6 separate regions of the Homo sapiens genome follow, and all the other regions are linked to region 5. Evidence: promoter capture Hi-C in 16 types of primary human blood cells and fetal thymus (Javierre and others, 2016). All regions are on one chromosome and are shown on one strand. The core of a region is centred on a gene start or on the middle of the fragment in contact, and the rest is flanking DNA. Distances in the headings are between cores, read along the strand shown.

What was found. Contacts are between HindIII fragments. The CHiCAGO score rates a contact against its expected background, and 5 or more counts as called.
Region 1: a contact is called between a fragment that was not itself captured here and the fragment with the promoter of ODAPH in region 5, in 6 of 17 cell types (total CD8 T cells, naive CD8 T cells, activated CD4 T cells and 3 more). The highest score is 6.9, in total CD8 T cells.
Region 2: a contact is called between a fragment that was not itself captured here and the fragment with the promoter of ODAPH in region 5, in 1 of 17 cell types (naive CD8 T cells). The highest score is 5.3, in naive CD8 T cells.
Region 3: a fragment that was not itself captured here is called in contact with the fragment with the promoter of ODAPH in region 5 in 2 of 17 cell types (neutrophils and activated CD4 T cells); the score reaches 5.5 in neutrophils.
Region 4: a fragment that was not itself captured here is called in contact with the fragment with the promoter of ODAPH in region 5 in 8 of 17 cell types (total CD8 T cells, activated CD4 T cells, naive CD8 T cells and 5 more); the score reaches 7.6 in total CD8 T cells.
Region 6: a contact is called between a fragment that was not itself captured here and the fragment with the promoter of ODAPH in region 5, in 2 of 17 cell types (naive CD8 T cells and total CD8 T cells). The highest score is 5.7, in naive CD8 T cells.

Annotation. Positions count from the first base shown.
Region 1 is chr4:75,707,472-75,710,171 of GRCh38, forward strand. It overlaps a transcript of G3BP2 not described here. Among named protein-coding and RNA genes, the nearest start is that of USO1, 16 kb to the right of the region's middle. The HindIII fragment of the contact is 6,765 bases long and covers 1-2,700 here.
Region 2 is chr4:75,762,726-75,765,425 of GRCh38, forward strand. All of the region lies in intron 4 of USO1 (USO1 vesicle transport factor), which reads left to right. Among named protein-coding and RNA genes, the nearest start is that of USO1, 39 kb to the left of the region's middle. The HindIII fragment of the contact is 431 bases long and covers 1,207-1,637 here.
Region 3 is chr4:75,780,073-75,782,772 of GRCh38, forward strand. It overlaps USO1 (USO1 vesicle transport factor), which reads left to right. Exons shown (of 24, transcript NM_003715.4): 9 at 2,608-2,700. Among named protein-coding and RNA genes, the nearest start is that of USO1, 57 kb to the left of the region's middle. The HindIII fragment of the contact is 4,054 bases long and covers 1-2,700 here.
Region 4 is chr4:75,800,210-75,802,909 of GRCh38, forward strand. It overlaps USO1 (USO1 vesicle transport factor), which reads left to right. Exons shown (of 24, transcript NM_003715.4): 15 at 142-260; 16 at 409-590; 17 at 870-991. Among named protein-coding and RNA genes, the nearest start is that of USO1, 77 kb to the left of the region's middle. The HindIII fragment of the contact is 1,119 bases long and covers 855-1,973 here.
Region 5 is chr4:75,554,671-75,557,370 of GRCh38, forward strand. It overlaps ODAPH (odontogenesis associated phosphoprotein), which reads left to right and starts at 1,396. Exons shown (of 2, transcript NM_178497.5): 1 at 1,396-1,479. The coding sequence starts at 1,413. RefSeq lists a silencer at 1,129-1,423. The HindIII fragment of the contact is 3,725 bases long and covers 1,232-2,700 here.
Region 6 is chr4:75,727,377-75,730,076 of GRCh38, forward strand. The region is part of intron 1 of USO1 (USO1 vesicle transport factor); the gene reads left to right. Among named protein-coding and RNA genes, the nearest start is that of USO1, 4.2 kb to the left of the region's middle. The HindIII fragment of the contact is 1,129 bases long and covers 787-1,915 here.

The sequences.
Region 1 (2,700 bases), core at 150-2,649, 150 kb after region 5:
GGTGGCGGGAGCCTGTAGTCCCAGCTACTCGGAGAGGCTGAGGCAGGAGAATGGCGTGAACCTGGGAGGCGGAGGTTGCAGTGAGCCGAGACTGCGCCACTGCACTCCAGCCTGGGTGACAGAGCGAGACTCAAAAAAAAAAAAAAAAAGACAATTATCAGTTTTTAAGTTTTTGCTATAAAGGATCATTAATGGTTAGCTTTATTATAATCCGGTGGTTTAACAAATCAATGTAGAAAAATGTTGATTGGGCCTTAGTCCTGTCAAAGATAAATTTTATGAAATTAAAATGAACTTGCATTTTTCAAACTTTGTGGCATTTACTTAGAGCAGAACTGGATTTACTGAAAGCAGAATATATTATTCAATATTACACATTAATTTTCAGAATAAAAATGTAAACATTAATTTAATTAACTCATTGGGTTTTTTAAACTACTGTTACTACAAATGACCTGCTTTTCAGCCAATATATACATAAAATGAGATTTATTTCATAGTAAATTCCATGTATATGTAATTAACAGACCCTCTATAACCAACTATGTGCATCGACAAAGTGTTACTTACTGTGCTGTGTGCTGAAATGGTTGCCCTCTGCTAGAGGGATAGGTATTGCCTTAGGGAAGTACCCTTTTCAATTTCAAACCAGAAAACTAGGAACTGTCAGGGAAGGTGTTAAGAAGGCTGTCAGGACCTTTTCCTTGCCCTGTCTCTTGGCCTAGTCTTGAGGAATCTAGGTGAATACCCTTCTTCCCCACTAGACTTGGCTCTTACAAAGAACTTGGCAAACATGTTTTGTTCTACTCTAGCCCCTACCATCAAGCCTGGCTAATGATTCCTTGGATGCTGGGAGTAAAGAGGGCCCAGTATGCATGAATAGCCCAAGACCTAGGAAGACAGGGATCCCCGTGAGCTGCAGAGGGTAAACAAATTCTATAAGCCACATGATCTTGATTGACGTCACTCTCACTCATAGAATTTATTTCTCCTAGCAGCTAGAACCCAGCTCAGCTGTAGACTAGATAATAATTCACAGCAACTGGTCCACAGCCTTAAAGGGGGAAGCAGTGCCTCCTAGAGGCAATTATGCTGGTGGAAGCAGTAATTTGTGAGACCTGAGGAGATGGTCCATACATCTTGGGGAATACAATAATGATAATATGGTCCGGTTGAACCTCTCCACTGGGATCTTCTCCATTAAGTTACAAAGTTTGGGCTGGGCATGGTGGCTCATGCCTGTAGTCCCAGCACTTTGGGAGGCCAAGGCAGGAGGATCGCTTGCACTGAGGAGTTTGAGATCAGCCTGGGCAGCAGAGTGAGACTCTCTACAAAAATAAAAAACAAAAATAGCTGGGTCCAGGCACAGTGGCTCATGCCTGTAATCCCAGTACTTTGGGAAGCCAAGGCAGGAGGACTGCTTGAGCCCAGGAATTCAAGAACAGCCTGGGCAACATGGTGAAACCCTGTCTATAAAAAATACAAAAAAATAGCCAGGCATGGTGGCGCACACTTGTAGTTTCAGGTACTTGGGAGGCCGAGGTGGGAGAATAACCTGAGTCCAGGAGTTGGGAGCTAAAGTGAGTCATAACCAGTCACTGCACTCCAGCCTGGGCAACAGAGAGAACTTGTCTGAAACAATAACAACAACAACAAAACAACCAGCCAGGCAGGGCATGGTGGCTCACACCTGTAATCCCAGCACTTTGGGAGGCTGAGGCAGGGGGATCACAAGGTCAGGAGTTAGAGGCCAGCCCGGCCAAGATGGTGAAACCCTATCTCTACTAAAAATACAAAAATTAGCCAGGTGCGGTGGTTGGCCCCTGTAATCTCAGCTACTCAGGAGGCTGAGGAAGGAGAATCGCTTGAACCCTGGAGGCAGAGGTTGCAGTGAGCTGAGATTGCACCACCACACTCCAGCCTGGGCAACAGGGTGAGACTCCGTCTCAAAAAAAAAAAAAAAAAAAAAAACCTACTACGAAAAAAACCGACCAGCCAGGTGTAGTAGCACATGCCTATAGTCTCAACTACTCTGTAGGCTGAGGTACAACGATTGCTGGAGCCCAGGAGGTAGAGGCTGTAGTGAGCCATGATCATGCCACTGCACTCCAGCCTGGGCAACAGAGCAAGACTCTATCTCAGAAAGAAAGAAAAAGGAAGGAAGGAAGGATTGATTTGTGGTTTCATTTTTATTTAAAGAATGCAGTTGTGTGTGTGTGGTGGGGCGGGTTTCAGAGATGGGGTTAGGGGGTCGTGTCTCATTATGTTGCCCAGGCTGGACTCTAACTCCTGGGCTCAAGGGATCCTTCCACCTCAGCCTCTGGAGTAGCTAGGACTACAGGCACACATCACTGCACCCAGCTCAAATAATGCAGTTTTTTACAGTATCATCTATTCCAAGGGTTGCTAACCTGTTCCCTTCAACTCCATCAACTCACTCTGGGTCCTCACTTGGGTAAGAATAGACCAGCTCTGATGGCCCTTGGCTTGAATTTATTGAAAGGGTATAGACTAAGGTCAGCTAATTCCATTTAATGGGAAAAAAGAGCTTATTGAACATATGACCACATACTAGGTAATGTAATGTGCTAGGTACCAAGCTATTACTGAATGTTAATGATACCTTCTATAAATGACAAGGTGTGGGATGTGTTTGGACTGCTTTATTTTTTCTAGGGACAGAGTCTCACTATGTTACCA
Region 2 (2,700 bases), core at 172-2,671, 210 kb after region 5:
AGACCATCCTGGCTAACATGGTGAAACCCCATCTCTACTAAAAATACAAAAAATTAGCCAGGCGTGGTGGCGGGCCCCTGTAGTCCCAGCTACTTGGGAGGCTGAGGCAGGAGAATGGTGTGAACCTGGGAGGCGGAGCTTGCAGTGAGCAGAGATCGTGCCACTGCACTCCAGACTGGGCGACAGTGCGAGACTCCGTCTCAAAACAAAAACAACAAAAAAAGTATACATGTACCTGTTTAATTAACTACCAGTATAAACGAAGATTATTTGATATTTCTTCACTCTGAGGACTGATTTTATTAGGATATCTCCTTTTATAAAGCAATTTCTTTTCTTCATAATATAGATTGTGAACTTAGTATAGAATAGAATTCCAAAGAGAAGATCCAGAAATGTTTTTAAATATTGTTTACACCTCTGGAAAAAGTACTACTAGAAATACATTTGAAGAGTAAATATATCTATGCATGCGTACTTAAATGCCAGCCATATAAACAGGCCTGAAAACTATCCAGAGCTATACAGACAGATGATGGTTCAACTTCACGATTTTTTGATTTACGATGGTGTGAAAGCAATATACATTCAGTAGAATCTATACTTCGAATACCCATACAACCATTCTGTTTTTTCACCTTCAGTACAGTATTCAGTAAATTACATGAGATAATACTTTATTATAAAATATGATTTCTGTTATATTTTGCCTAGCTGTAGGATAATGTAAGTGTTCTGGGCACATTTAAAGTAGGTTAAACATATTAAATACATTTTCAACCTATGATATTTTCAGTTTTTGATGGGCTTATCAGGACATAACCCCATTGTAAATTGAGGAGCATCTGTGTAAGTACTTAGAACGGGCATTTTTTTATTTTACATTCCTATATTAAATTTATTTTTACTATGGTAACAAAGGGCCATTTCATTTTTATCTTATTTTTTTCATTTACCTTACAATAAATGGTCATTTACAGGTTATAAATGCACAATATAATATATAAACTATAGGCTATAAAAAACTTAGCTATAAAGGTTGTAATCTAATGATTAATGATGAGAGAAGATGGTTTACTTGTTTCATGCCTTTGCTTACACGTATAATTGGTATAATTTCTCATGGTTCTAGTTTTTGTTCACAACTTTTAGATATTAGTGTAGTAGTTTATAGTAGTTTGTAGCTTAATTTACTGCTACACTTAAAGCTTTGTGTATTACCTTAATTGCTTAGCTAATTTGGGGATACTTCATTAAAGTTCAGAAGTGCTGTCTTATGACTGTAACTTAAAAGAAATGGCGTATATCTCACACTTTTTCAAATTGACAGTGTTAAACCAGAAGGAACCATTGATCCTTGTAATAGGACCATATTTTACTAGTTCAGTTCAAAATGTAAATTTTAATTCTATACTGATAAGCTACAGCATATTATACAATATAGCTACAGAATAAATTAAAGATATTAACTCTACTTCTTCCTAAGTTATTTGCTTGTGCCCAGTGCAAACACTGAATTAAACTTTTTCTGGTATTAGACCTGACTTCCTTAAAGCATAGCACAGAAGTTCTAGAGAGTGTTCTGTATTAAAACGGGTTCATAGTTAAATAAACATAAATACTATATTCCCCTCTGAAGCTTCATAAAATTTACACTGGTGTAGTAAGTGCTGAGAAGCCTGCAGTGAAAAATCTTGTTCAACTTTGTTTAATCCAAATATATTTGTCCACAGGGGCTTAGTTCTGCCATGTACCTATTAACATGCCACACTATCCTTTGTTTTGAAATATACTAACCAAGGCTTGGTTAGTTGTTTATGTTTACATATGTAAAAATATTTCAACATTTTAAAATACATTTTAGGGGAAGAATCCATCAAGTCTATATGTGGTTTTTTTTCTTCCTTTTTAGATTAGTTTATAATTTTTAATGTTTTCCCAAATGTCAATAACTATAATTTTTAGCTTTTCTCATGAGGTCACAAACTTTTGGCCCAAGGGCATTGTCTATCTTGTAAGCAAGGCTGTTTGACCCACATAGTATTTTAAGTAAGGTGAATAAGTTGCCACTATTATAAATTGGGAGCTTGTGTCAACGTTTGTATTTTAGACTTCTTTTTGAAAAAACCTGAAGATTGGCAATACCTGGATCTGCATTCCTACATGGCAACAGGCAGCTGGAGTTGAGTAACTGCTGTTTTCCTTAGACAGAGCATATACTCCCCATCCTCTAATGTTAGCCTGCTTCACTCACTCACATTACTGTCTTTTGTTTGTAGTCAAGTTTTCATTCTCTGCTATCTTCACACCACTGAGATAAAAAATAATTATGCTATAAATTACTTTCAAACGCATGATTTTTAAAGTTATATATCTCATTCAACAAATATGAATATATGCAAATGGAAACTAGCCCTACAAAGCACCCATGACTAAGTTAATATTGCTGTGATTTTAATTTCTTGAGGGAGACAATTCTGAGAGAATATTACTTGTCTTTTGAACATAGATTTCTCATGTATTTGGAGAATAATTTATTTGACATGCATTCCCAATGGGCCCTTTTTGTATAATTTCTTTATCTGCTTTTTTATCTATACAGTTTCACTAGAATTTGGCTAACATCTCCATGATTTGTTAGGGTTCTGGGGTGGCTTAAAAAACAAGGTAGGCTCATTAGCCCACCAGCTCTTGTGAGAT
Region 3 (2,700 bases), core at 58-2,557, 230 kb after region 5:
AAGACAGCACATCTATGTAATAGCATGATTTACTGAGCACACATTTACTGAACACACATCTCTTACACTTCTGTGTAAGAGCATGGTTTTCTAGGCCCAGTGCATTAGAAAAAACGATTTTCAAAATATTACTTCTCATTGACAATGCACCTGATCACGCAAGAGCTCTGATGGAGATGTAAAAAGAGAATAATACTGTTTTCTTTTTTTTTGAGATGGAGTCTCGCACTGTCACTTGGGCTGGTGTGTAGTGGTGTGATCTCGGCTCACTGCCACCTCTGCCTCCTAGGTTCAAGCAATTCTCCTGCCTCAGCCTCCTGAGTAGCTAACATTACAGGCACCCACTACTGTGCCCGGCTAATTTTTTGTATTTTTTTTTTTAGTAGAGATGGGGCTTCACTATGTTGGCCAGGCTGATCTTGAACTCCTGACCTCATGATTCGCCCACGTGGCCTCCCAAAGTGCTGGGATTACAGACGTGAGCCACTGTGCCCAGCCAATAATATTGTTTTCATACTGTTAACACAACATGCATTTTGCAGCCCATGGATCAAGGATAAATTTTGACTTTTTTTTTTTTTTTTTTTTTTTTTGAGATGGAGTCTCACTCTGTCCCCCAGGCTGGAATGCAGTGGTACAATCTCGGCTCATTGCAGCCTCTGCCTCCCAGGTTCAAGCAATTCTCGTACCTCAGCCTCGTGAGTAGCTGGGATTACAGGTATGCACCACCATGCCCAGCTAATTTTTGTAATTTATTAGAGACAGGGTTTCACCATGTTGGCCAGGCTGGCCTTGAACTCCTGACCTCAAGTGATCCATCCACCTCAGCCTCCCAAAGTGCTGGGATTACAGGTGTGAGTCACTGCACCCAGCAATTTTGACTTTCAAGTCTTAATATTTAAGAAATACATTTCATAAGGCTATAGCTACATAGATAGTGATTTCTGTAACGCATCTGGGCAAAGTAAATTGAAAACTTTCTGGAAACGATTTGCCATTCTAGATACCATTAAGAACATTTGTAATTCATGGGAAGTCAAAATACCAAGATTTACAGGAGTTTGGAAGAAGTTGATTCCGGCAACCCTCATGGATGACTTGGAGGGGTTCAAGACTTTAGTGGAGGAACCAACTGAAGATGTGGTATAAATAACAGGAGAATTAGAAGTGGAGCCTGAAAATGTGATTGAATTTTTGCAATCTCATGATCAAACTTCAACAGATGAGGGGTTATTACTTATGGATGAGCAAAGAAGGTGGTGAAGATGCTGTGAACATTGGTGAAATGACAACAAAGGATTTAGAATATTACATCAACTTAGTTGATAAAGCAGTGTCAGGGTTTGAGAGAATTGACTCCAGTTTTGAAAGAATTTCTACTGGAAGTAAAATGACTCACTGAAGACTCAGGTGGTCATTAGCATTTTTTTAGCAATGAAATATTTTTAAATTAAGTTATGTACATTCTTTGGACATGATGCTATTGCACACTTAATAAATTACATTATAGTGTAAATGTAACTTTTGTATACACTAAGAAACCAAAAAATTTGTGGGACTGACTTGATTGTGATACTTGCTTTATTGCAGAAGTCTAGAACCAATAAGTAGATGTCTGTGTAGAGAAACTCTATTTGTACTTACTTTTTCTATAAGCCTAAAACTGCTCTAAAAAATGATGTCTTTTTAAAAAAAAAATAATTTATTTTTGTCAACATACAGCTCAACTATTAGGAATAAAAGTGTTGATGTACCAGATGAGCTTACTTGTCGTTACGTACAGCATCCAGCATCAGTCAATATGTTTATCAGAAGAAACGGAGGCTATTGGTTAATCTATTAGTACTTGGTAAAGTAGAGATCAATTGGAGAGTTTTCACTGTGATAATAGTGAAAGCTGTAGTGTGGATGAAACTGCCCTGGAGAGTATATGCTGTAAACAAAGAAGAAAAAGGATAAAACCATGGAGGACAGAAACAATGAAAGATTGAGCACCTGCAGAGCTGTAAGGAAAATCAAGAGAGCATAATGTTTTAGAAATCAAGGGAAGTTTCAAGGAAGAGACAAACCGACAATGTTAAGAGCTTCTTAGAGATCAAATAAGATATGGTTGATTCATTCAACAAATGTTTAATAGTTAAGTACTGTGTATATACATGATATCATGTCTCTGTCTCTGCTAAAGATACAGAGGTAAGTAGACTGTTCACAAGCGTTTGTGAATTATAATCTAGTGGAGAAGACAAACACTACCTAATAATAAAAGGAGAAGGCTACTGTAAGAGCATGTAGCTGGTGACGCTAACCTAGTCCTGTAGTCTTGGTAATCATTCCTGAAGAAATGATGTTTAAGCTGGGATTTGAAGATAAACAATGAGTTACTAAGGCGATTGGTTACTTGACATAGAAGTCAAGAGATCTTTGGGGTACCTGAGAAAGAGCATGCAGGTTATGGCCTGTGGCCATCAGGTGTCAGAGCAGACTGTCTATCTGCCTGGCCATATTGAAGAGATGCTGAGCATGGAGATTTATCTTTTTAAAAATGTTTGGGAGTTTTGCGTCAGGTTTTACGAGCCTTAACGCTTGTGTTTTACATTATTTCCCCAGGTATAGTAGTTGAAGATTGTTTGATTTTGCTCCAAAACTTATTAAAAAACAACAACTCCAATCAAAATTTTTTTAAAGAAGGCTCATATATTC
Region 4 (2,700 bases), core at 164-2,663, 250 kb after region 5:
TACAGGCATGAGCCACCACACCTAGCCTATATATGGAATTTCTTATGGGAACTCTTATGTGAAGTATTAATGTATGTCAAATTCAAATTGCAAAATGTACTAGATATTTTCAATCCTTAGCCTCCTTAACAAAGATTTCAGCTTACAGGACAAATTGCAGAAAATCTTGGAGAAGAAGAGCAGTTGGTCCAAGGCTTATGTGCCCTTTTGTTGGGCATTTCGATTTATTTCAATGATAACTCACTTGAGAGCTACATGAAGTAAGTAAGGGGAAGATGGTTTTCTAATGGCATCAAGAGATAATGATGCTTTTTTTTTTTTTTTGCCAAAGCATTATGTAGACCAAGCTTTTATGTTTTGTTTTGATTTTATTTTTTTTAAAGCATCTCAATATGCTTATCTCCGTAGAGAGAAGCTAAAACAACTGATTGAGAAGAGGATTGGCAAAGAGAATTTCATAGAGAAACTAGGATTTATTAGCAAACATGAGTTGTATTCCAGAGCATCTCAGAAACCCCAGCCAAACTTTCCCAGTCCAGAATACATGATATTTGATCATGAGTTTACGAAGCTGGTAAAAGAACTTGAAGGTAAGACTGAAGATTTATATTGATATTTGATGGAAAGTAATTATATTTATATTGTACATGTATATTCTGGATGCATACAGGTTATATGGTAACTCTAAAGGTATATTTTCTTCCTAGCTCTTGATCTGTAGCCCATTGAAGGACATTTGGCTTTCAGTAGGATTGAAAAGATTATTTCTTACCTATCATGGAGTTAGGTTATATGTTTTTACTAAGTCTTAGTAGTAAAATAGTATTTAAAACATTTAAAACAAATTTTAAATAAGCTTCCTTTTATAGGTGTTATAACTAAGGCTATTTATAAGTCCAGTGAAGAAGATAAAAAAGAAGAAGAGGTGAAAAAAACATTAGAACAGCATGACAATATTGTGACTCACTACAAAAATATGATTCGAGAGCAGGTAAGTACTAATGAACTGTATATACCCTCTGATTACCAATAGGCACTTTCTGCTTTAAGGGAGCCTTTTTTTCTGACATTTCAAATGAAAGAGGATATAGAAAGCAAAACCCATCATTTTTCAAAGCATCTGAGTATTCAACAAACAGAGTGCTTAATATGTGCTAAGCACCATGCAGCTGATTTATTAGATAATGATGAGTGGATAAAGATGAAACTACAATTGCGGAATCATCAGTTGACATTTTCTTTCCAGGATACCAGTGAACTTTCATTACTTGCATTGTGTTGAGTACCCTAAACCTTCATTATATTCCTTCAAAATGTTTTCTTGACTTTTACTCTCATTTAATTTCTTATGATATTTACCTTGATTGGAATTCTAGAAAGTGCTGAAAAATGAGGTTATTAATGTTGTTAAAATTCCAGTGTCATAAAAAAATACAATAGTGGCAGACCCTGTGGGACAGATTCATCCCCTTCCCTCTACTGCTCTCCACACCTGTCTACTAATTGTGCACAGTTTATGGCAGGTGTGGCAAGTAAAAGCATAGATAGAACCCTTTAAATTGACAACTGTTTATATCTTATTTTCTTCCTCACAATCTACATTACTGAGATTAGTTTGTTTTTTGTTTAGACAGAGTCTTGCTCTTGTTTCCCAGGCTGGAGTGCAGTGGCGCAGTCTCGGCTCACTGCAACCTCCGCCTCCCAGGTTCAAGCAATTCTCTTGCCTCAGCCTCGCAAGTAGCTGGGATTATAGGCGTGTGCCACCACGCTGCCTAATTTTTATATTTTTAGTAGAGATGAGGTTTCACCATGTTGGCTGGTGTTGATCTCCTGACCTCGGGTGATCCCTTCCCTTCCCTGCCTCAGCCTTCCGAAATGCTGGGATTATAGGCATAAGCCAGCGCGCCCAGCCTACTGAGATTAAAATTTTAAGAAAGAATGAAAATATTGTGGTATATTTAGCATTCATTCTAAGCTTTTCAGTTTAAAAGTAAATCAATCAATAAATTATAATCTTAGAATGGTAAAATTTGAATCATCAAACTACCTATGGTTATTAGGATTTTTCATCTATATCTGGGTACAAAGATGGAGCCATTTCCAGTTGCTAAAATGTAATAATATCTTTGGAACAGTGAAAAAAACAAATAGTTGTAATGTGATATAGAGTCTATACTTGGGGCTGCAAATACAGTTGATTTGGCAAAAGAAAAGAGTGATTGACACAATTACTCTAATGACTTCCTTAGAAATGTTCATTTTAAATATTCTTACCATTTAAAATGCTATTTGGCATTAGTCCACAAGCATCTAGAACTATAAAATGTTTATATCCTTTGAATGACATTTGATAATTCATCCTAAGGGAATTCTCCAAAATTCAGGAAAACAATTATATGGACTAAAATATATAATGTAATGAAATTTGTCACTTTGAAAAATGGAAAGCAATATTAAGTAGATGCAATACAATTTATATTCAGTGTTTTTGATGCTGAGGTTGCTTTCCATTTTTCTTTTTCTTTTCTTTTTTTTTTTTTTTTTTTTTTTTTGAGACAGTTTCGCTCTTGTTGCCCAGGCTGGAGTGCAGTGGCTGAGCACGGTGCCTCATGCCTGTAATCCCAGCACTTTGGGAGGCCAAGGTGGGCAGATTACCTGAGGTCGGGAGTTCGAGACCAATCTGACCAACATGGAGAAACC
Region 5 (2,700 bases), core at 146-2,645:
ATCACAAACACTCCCTTTCACAGGCCAGGCACTGTGGTTGGAGCTGTATGTCAATTATCTCCTTGATATGAAACCAACTAAGTGGCCATCGACCAACGAGTGGATAAAGAAAATGTGGTAGAAATACACCATGGAATACTACTCAGCCATAAAAAAATGAAATAATGTCTTTTGCAGCAACTTGGATGGAGCTGGAGGCCATTATTCCAAGTTAAGTAACTCAGGAATGGAAAACCAAATATCGTATGTTCTCACTTATACGTGGGAGCTGAGCTATGAGGACACAAAGACATACAGAATGATATAATGGACTTTAGAGGCTAGGGGTGGGGGAGGTTGGGAAGGAGGTGAGGGATAAAAGACTACATATTGGGTGCAGTGTACACTGCTCGGGTGACGAGTGCACTAAAATCTCAGAGTTCGCCACCATAGAGTCCATCCATGTAACCCAAAACCACTCGTACCCCAAAAGATTGAAATTTAAAAAAAATTTTTTTTAAAAGCATCTCCTTAATTCACAAATTCCTCTGAGGGTAGTACCACAAGTCCCATTTTACAGGTGAGGCCCCTGAGGCTTCAGCAAGTCTCAGGGACTCACCACAGTCACTCAGCTAGTAAGAAAAGGAACAAAGACTGGAATTTTACCTGACTCCAAGGTCCATGTTCTTAATCACCTGTGACAATCCCCTCTCATATATCCAGCAGCTGATGAAGTCTTTCTCTCAGGAAACCAACTGGACATAGACATGTCATGTCCATTTTATATGCAATATGGTGAATCAGGAGGAGCCGTGAAAGGACGACTCACTAAGTTACTCTCCCAATGTTTATGTTTGTTTAGACAGTGACCATCATGACCACTAGGGAAGATCACTTTCTGATTCTGCTGCCCTCACCTCCTGGACAAAAGCAGAGCAGAGAAGCAGCATAAACCCTGGTTGGGGGCCTAAGAATGATCCCCAACTCTCCACTGCAAACCACCGGGGTCAGGAAGCCTCCGGGTAATGCCCTCTCCCTCTTGTTTCGCTTTTTAAGTAGGTAAGCTGCACAGAGAGAAGCACTGTTGCATATTTCTGGACAGCTTATTTCTCTTGCAGAGGAAGACTGATATACACAACTAAAAGGCACTAACATGGGAGAAGATTTGAGAGATTAGAAGGATGGTGAAGGTGCGGTTGTCCAAAATCCCCCTCTGGGGGGAGATGATTGATATCTGGCTGTCATTCCAAGAAGCTTCTGGTTGACAAATACTGTCTGGTATTTCCTTGCTGATTTCTTACCCTCACACCGCAAGCCCTGATCTCTGTGGTCCACTGTGCAAATGCAAATTACCTGAATCAGGCTGCTGGTGACTCACCAGCTCCCCTTTAAAGCAACATCAGGTTCAACGCAGTGACTGCTCAGTAGAAGCCATGGCTCGCAGACACTGCTTCTCCTACTGGTTACTGGTATGCTGGTTGGTGGTAACTGTGGCAGAAGGTAAGGGTTTTGCTTTTATTCTACTGTGGGTCCACTAATTAATAAGTTGTAGGAAAAGACAAAACTGGCTCCATGATTATACGTTCCCATAAATTGGAAATATTTACCTCAGCTTCCATCAGCCTGTGTGGTTAAAGAGAAGGAAGTTGGATTTTGTCACCTGAAGACCTTGGTCCTCGTCTCAGCAATAGCTCTGTGACTTTAGACACACTTAAAATCTCTGAGTATCAGATTCCTCATATGTGAAGTGACAACATTAACAATATCCATCGTTATGGGGTTTGCAAGGACCAAATGAGCTATCATCTGTGAAAAACTCTTCAAGCTAAAAACACTGTACAAATACTAGTTATTATGGTTACAAAGCTAACAATTCCACTTTGAATTACAGCACTGTCCACTTTCTATCTCCAGCAGCATATTAATTTGCACATGGTGGGTATTTAGTCTTTGTTCATTGCTTTAATTAATCACATCTATTGAGCTGCATTTTGGTGCCACAGAGGTGGGCACAGGTTTCTTTCTTTAGGATTTTATTAGATTCCATTTCTCAACTGTTCCTATTCTCTTTCTTTGTTCCCACTACAAAATGTGTCCTGAGCCTTACAATTGGTTTGCAAACCCCTAGGAAAAGGAAAGAAAAGGCTGGGGAAGGGATGAAAAGAGGGAAATACAAGGGGAGGAAATCTTGGGGAGCCTAGATCTAACCTTTTCTTCAGTTTATTTTAATTCCAAAACTAGATGCTGTTTACGGAAGATGGACCTAGGAGTCAAACAGAGCACTTCACCCCTTTCACATGTCTTGGGTAGGGGGCTTTGCAGGGGCTCAGCCAAACCCTGCTCATCCCCAGACAGATTCCCCGTTCCCATCCCTCAGAGCTCACAATAGACAGGAGGAGGGGAGAGACATAAGAGCTGGTTGTGGAACACTCAGAAACCCCCTGATCCAACCTCTGCACACACTCTGGCAATCAGGGGACAGGGCATAGATTATGAACAAAACCTGCCCCCATATCCCAAGGCAAGGCCCCCAAGCCTCACCTACTAAAAGTGACATCTAAAAGAAGCATCATAAAACAAAACTAGCCACCTGCCACTTTCTCTGCAAAAAGTGAACCGCTCTTCAGGAGGCTTTGTAAACACATAGCTAAACAAGTTATAATGAGATTAGAGATTTATTTTATTCACATCTTAAAAACACCCACTGAGGCTGGGTACAGT
Region 6 (2,700 bases), core at 101-2,600, 170 kb after region 5:
CCTAACTTTGAGTATGTACATTTAAAATTGGAAAAGTAATTTGTCTTCTATTTTTTCTTTTTAATCACCTCCACAATAAAGCAATTTGCCTTCTGAAAATTATTATTCTGAGGTACAGTATGAATAAAATTTGTTTCACTATTTCGTTCCACCAGGAAGTACAACAGGTAAAAGGGGTCATGGATTACTAATTTAGAAGTATTTATAGAGCATCAGTGGAGTGTATATACAATTTTAGATGTTTTAATTGATGATTTAGTCTGGCCAGGATATTTGAGTTACCAGAGCTTGGAACCCCTAGCTTCTATATTATCATTTATTATTTTGTAGTTTTTTCCATTTCTGCAAAATTAAATTTTTTTCATGGTGGCTTTCCATCTTTCTTGCTTTTTCTAACATCTTTTTTCCAATGGAAGGGCTCTTTTCTTTGTCTGAATTAGACCTGTTATTTAAATTCATCATCAGCGCCTCCCCTAATCTGTACTTTCCCCCAGCACGTTTCAGATGCTTTTTCCTTTCTGAGCTACCTTTACATTTTAACTACAGTGTGCATATATCTTATTCCTTCTAGACTCTTAAAGTGTCTTTAGGGCAGGGTTCATAATGTATTTTAATCTTTGTTTTTCCACAGTAGTAGATGCCCAGTAAATACTTGTGAAATGAATTAATTATAGTTTTATTTGAAAGAAATCACAGATCTGTAATTATAGCAACTTACGTTACTAGGTACTAAAACACTTTTTAAAGACTAGAAACTGAAGTTCTCAAATGAAGTTCATTGTGTCAAGCTTTTTACTTAAGGGATTTTTTCATATTTACTAAATGCTTTGACTGCTTTCTTGTTTTTTTTTTTCTTATTGAATTTAAGTATCTTTTAAATGTGTGAGAGTTATGTGATTGATTGTATAGTATCTAGCTTTTCATACTCTTAGTTAAGAGTAACTTTGGACTGATATTAAGATGTTCTTCAGGCCGGGGGCTCACGCCTATAATCCCAGCACTTTGGGAGGCCAAGGCAGATGGAGCACTTGAGGTCAGGAGTTTGAGACCAGCCTGGCCAAACTCCTTTCTGGAGTCAAGCACATTTTTATGGTGAAACCCTGTCTCTACTAAAAATACAAAAATTAGCTGGGCATGGTGGCACATGCCTATAATCTCAGCTACTCAGGAGGCTGAGGCAGGAGAATCGAGGCGGTGGTTGGCAGTGAGCAACCACTGAGTGGTTAAGATTGTGCCACTGCATTCCAGCCTGGGCGAGAGAGCGAGACTGTCTCAAAAAGAAAGATGTTCTTGAGAACCTGTCAAGTAGTAAATATTTTATCATAGGATAGTCAATTCTATAAAGTACTGGATATTTTAAATTCAGAATTTCATCCACATTAAACTTTTTCTGTTTTAGAGTCATGTACTTTTGTTTTTGTTTTTGTTTTGTTTTGTTTTGAGACAGAGTCTCGCTCTGTGGCCCAGGCTGGAGTGCAGTGGCGCAATCTTGGCTCACTGCAAGCTCCCCCTCCCGGGTTCACGCCATTCTTCTGCCTCAGCCTCCCAAGTAGCTGGGACTACAGGTGTCTGCCACCACACCGGCTAATTTTTGTATTTTTAGTGGAGATGGGGTTTCACCGTGTTAACCAGGATGGTCTCGATCTCCTGACTTCGTGATCCGCCTGCCTTGGCCTCCCAAAGTGCTGGAATTACAGGTGTGAGCCACGGCACCTGGCCCCAGAGTCGGGTACTTTTACATTTCATTTCTCTTTTTTACTTGACACTGATTTCTGGTGATTGAAGCCTCTTTAGCCTTGACACAGTTTGCTGGGTGCATATTATTATAGTACAAATCCTACTCATGCTTTTGTTTTTTAGTTTTCTCTTTTTCCCTAACCACTAGACCACCAGGGACTTCATGCTTTTGAATGTAAGCTTATGTGTGCTTAGTGTTATATCTGCCTTCTATCTAGCACCTTTTTTTTGGGTAGGGGGGTGGGGTACGAAGTCTCGCTCTGTCGCCCAGGCTGGAGTGCAGTGACGTAATCTCGGCTCACTGCAGCCTCCGCCTCCTGGGTTCAAGCAGTTCTCCTGGCTCAGTCTCCCGAGCAGCTGGGACTACAGGTGCACGCCACCACGCCAGGCTAATTTTTTTGTATTTTAGTAGAGACAGGGTTGCACTGTGATGCCCAGGCTGGTCTTGAACTCCTGAGCTCAGGCAGTCTGCCCGCCTCGGCCTCTCAAAGTGCTAGGATTATAGGCGTGAGCCACTGCGCCCAGCCCCCAACTTGTACCTTTTTTAAAGCTAGTTTCTTGAAAATTCCAAGCAAGTGTTAACTACATTTGATGATGAATCATAGAGGCATTTTCTGTTCTCAAGTTGGACCCCGAGACATGAAAGTTGCTAATGTCCAGAAAAAGCATACAGAATTAGAACATTGTTATGGGGTCTCTTTCCAGATCAAACTTTCATCAGCTGTCTCAGAAAGCAGAAGGGCTAACAATATAAACACAGCCATATTTTCTTTTAATAAAAATTGTTATTAAAGAGTGTGGACTTAAATTTAGACATAGTTTTCGTTTAGTCAAGCACATTTTATACCATGTTACTATAAATGTGTAGTCTGAAATTCCTATTTGGGTTGATGTATTCTACATTAATAACCAGGTCAATGTCATAACTGGAATGTGTTTTCTCTCTTGGCCTGTTTTGCAATA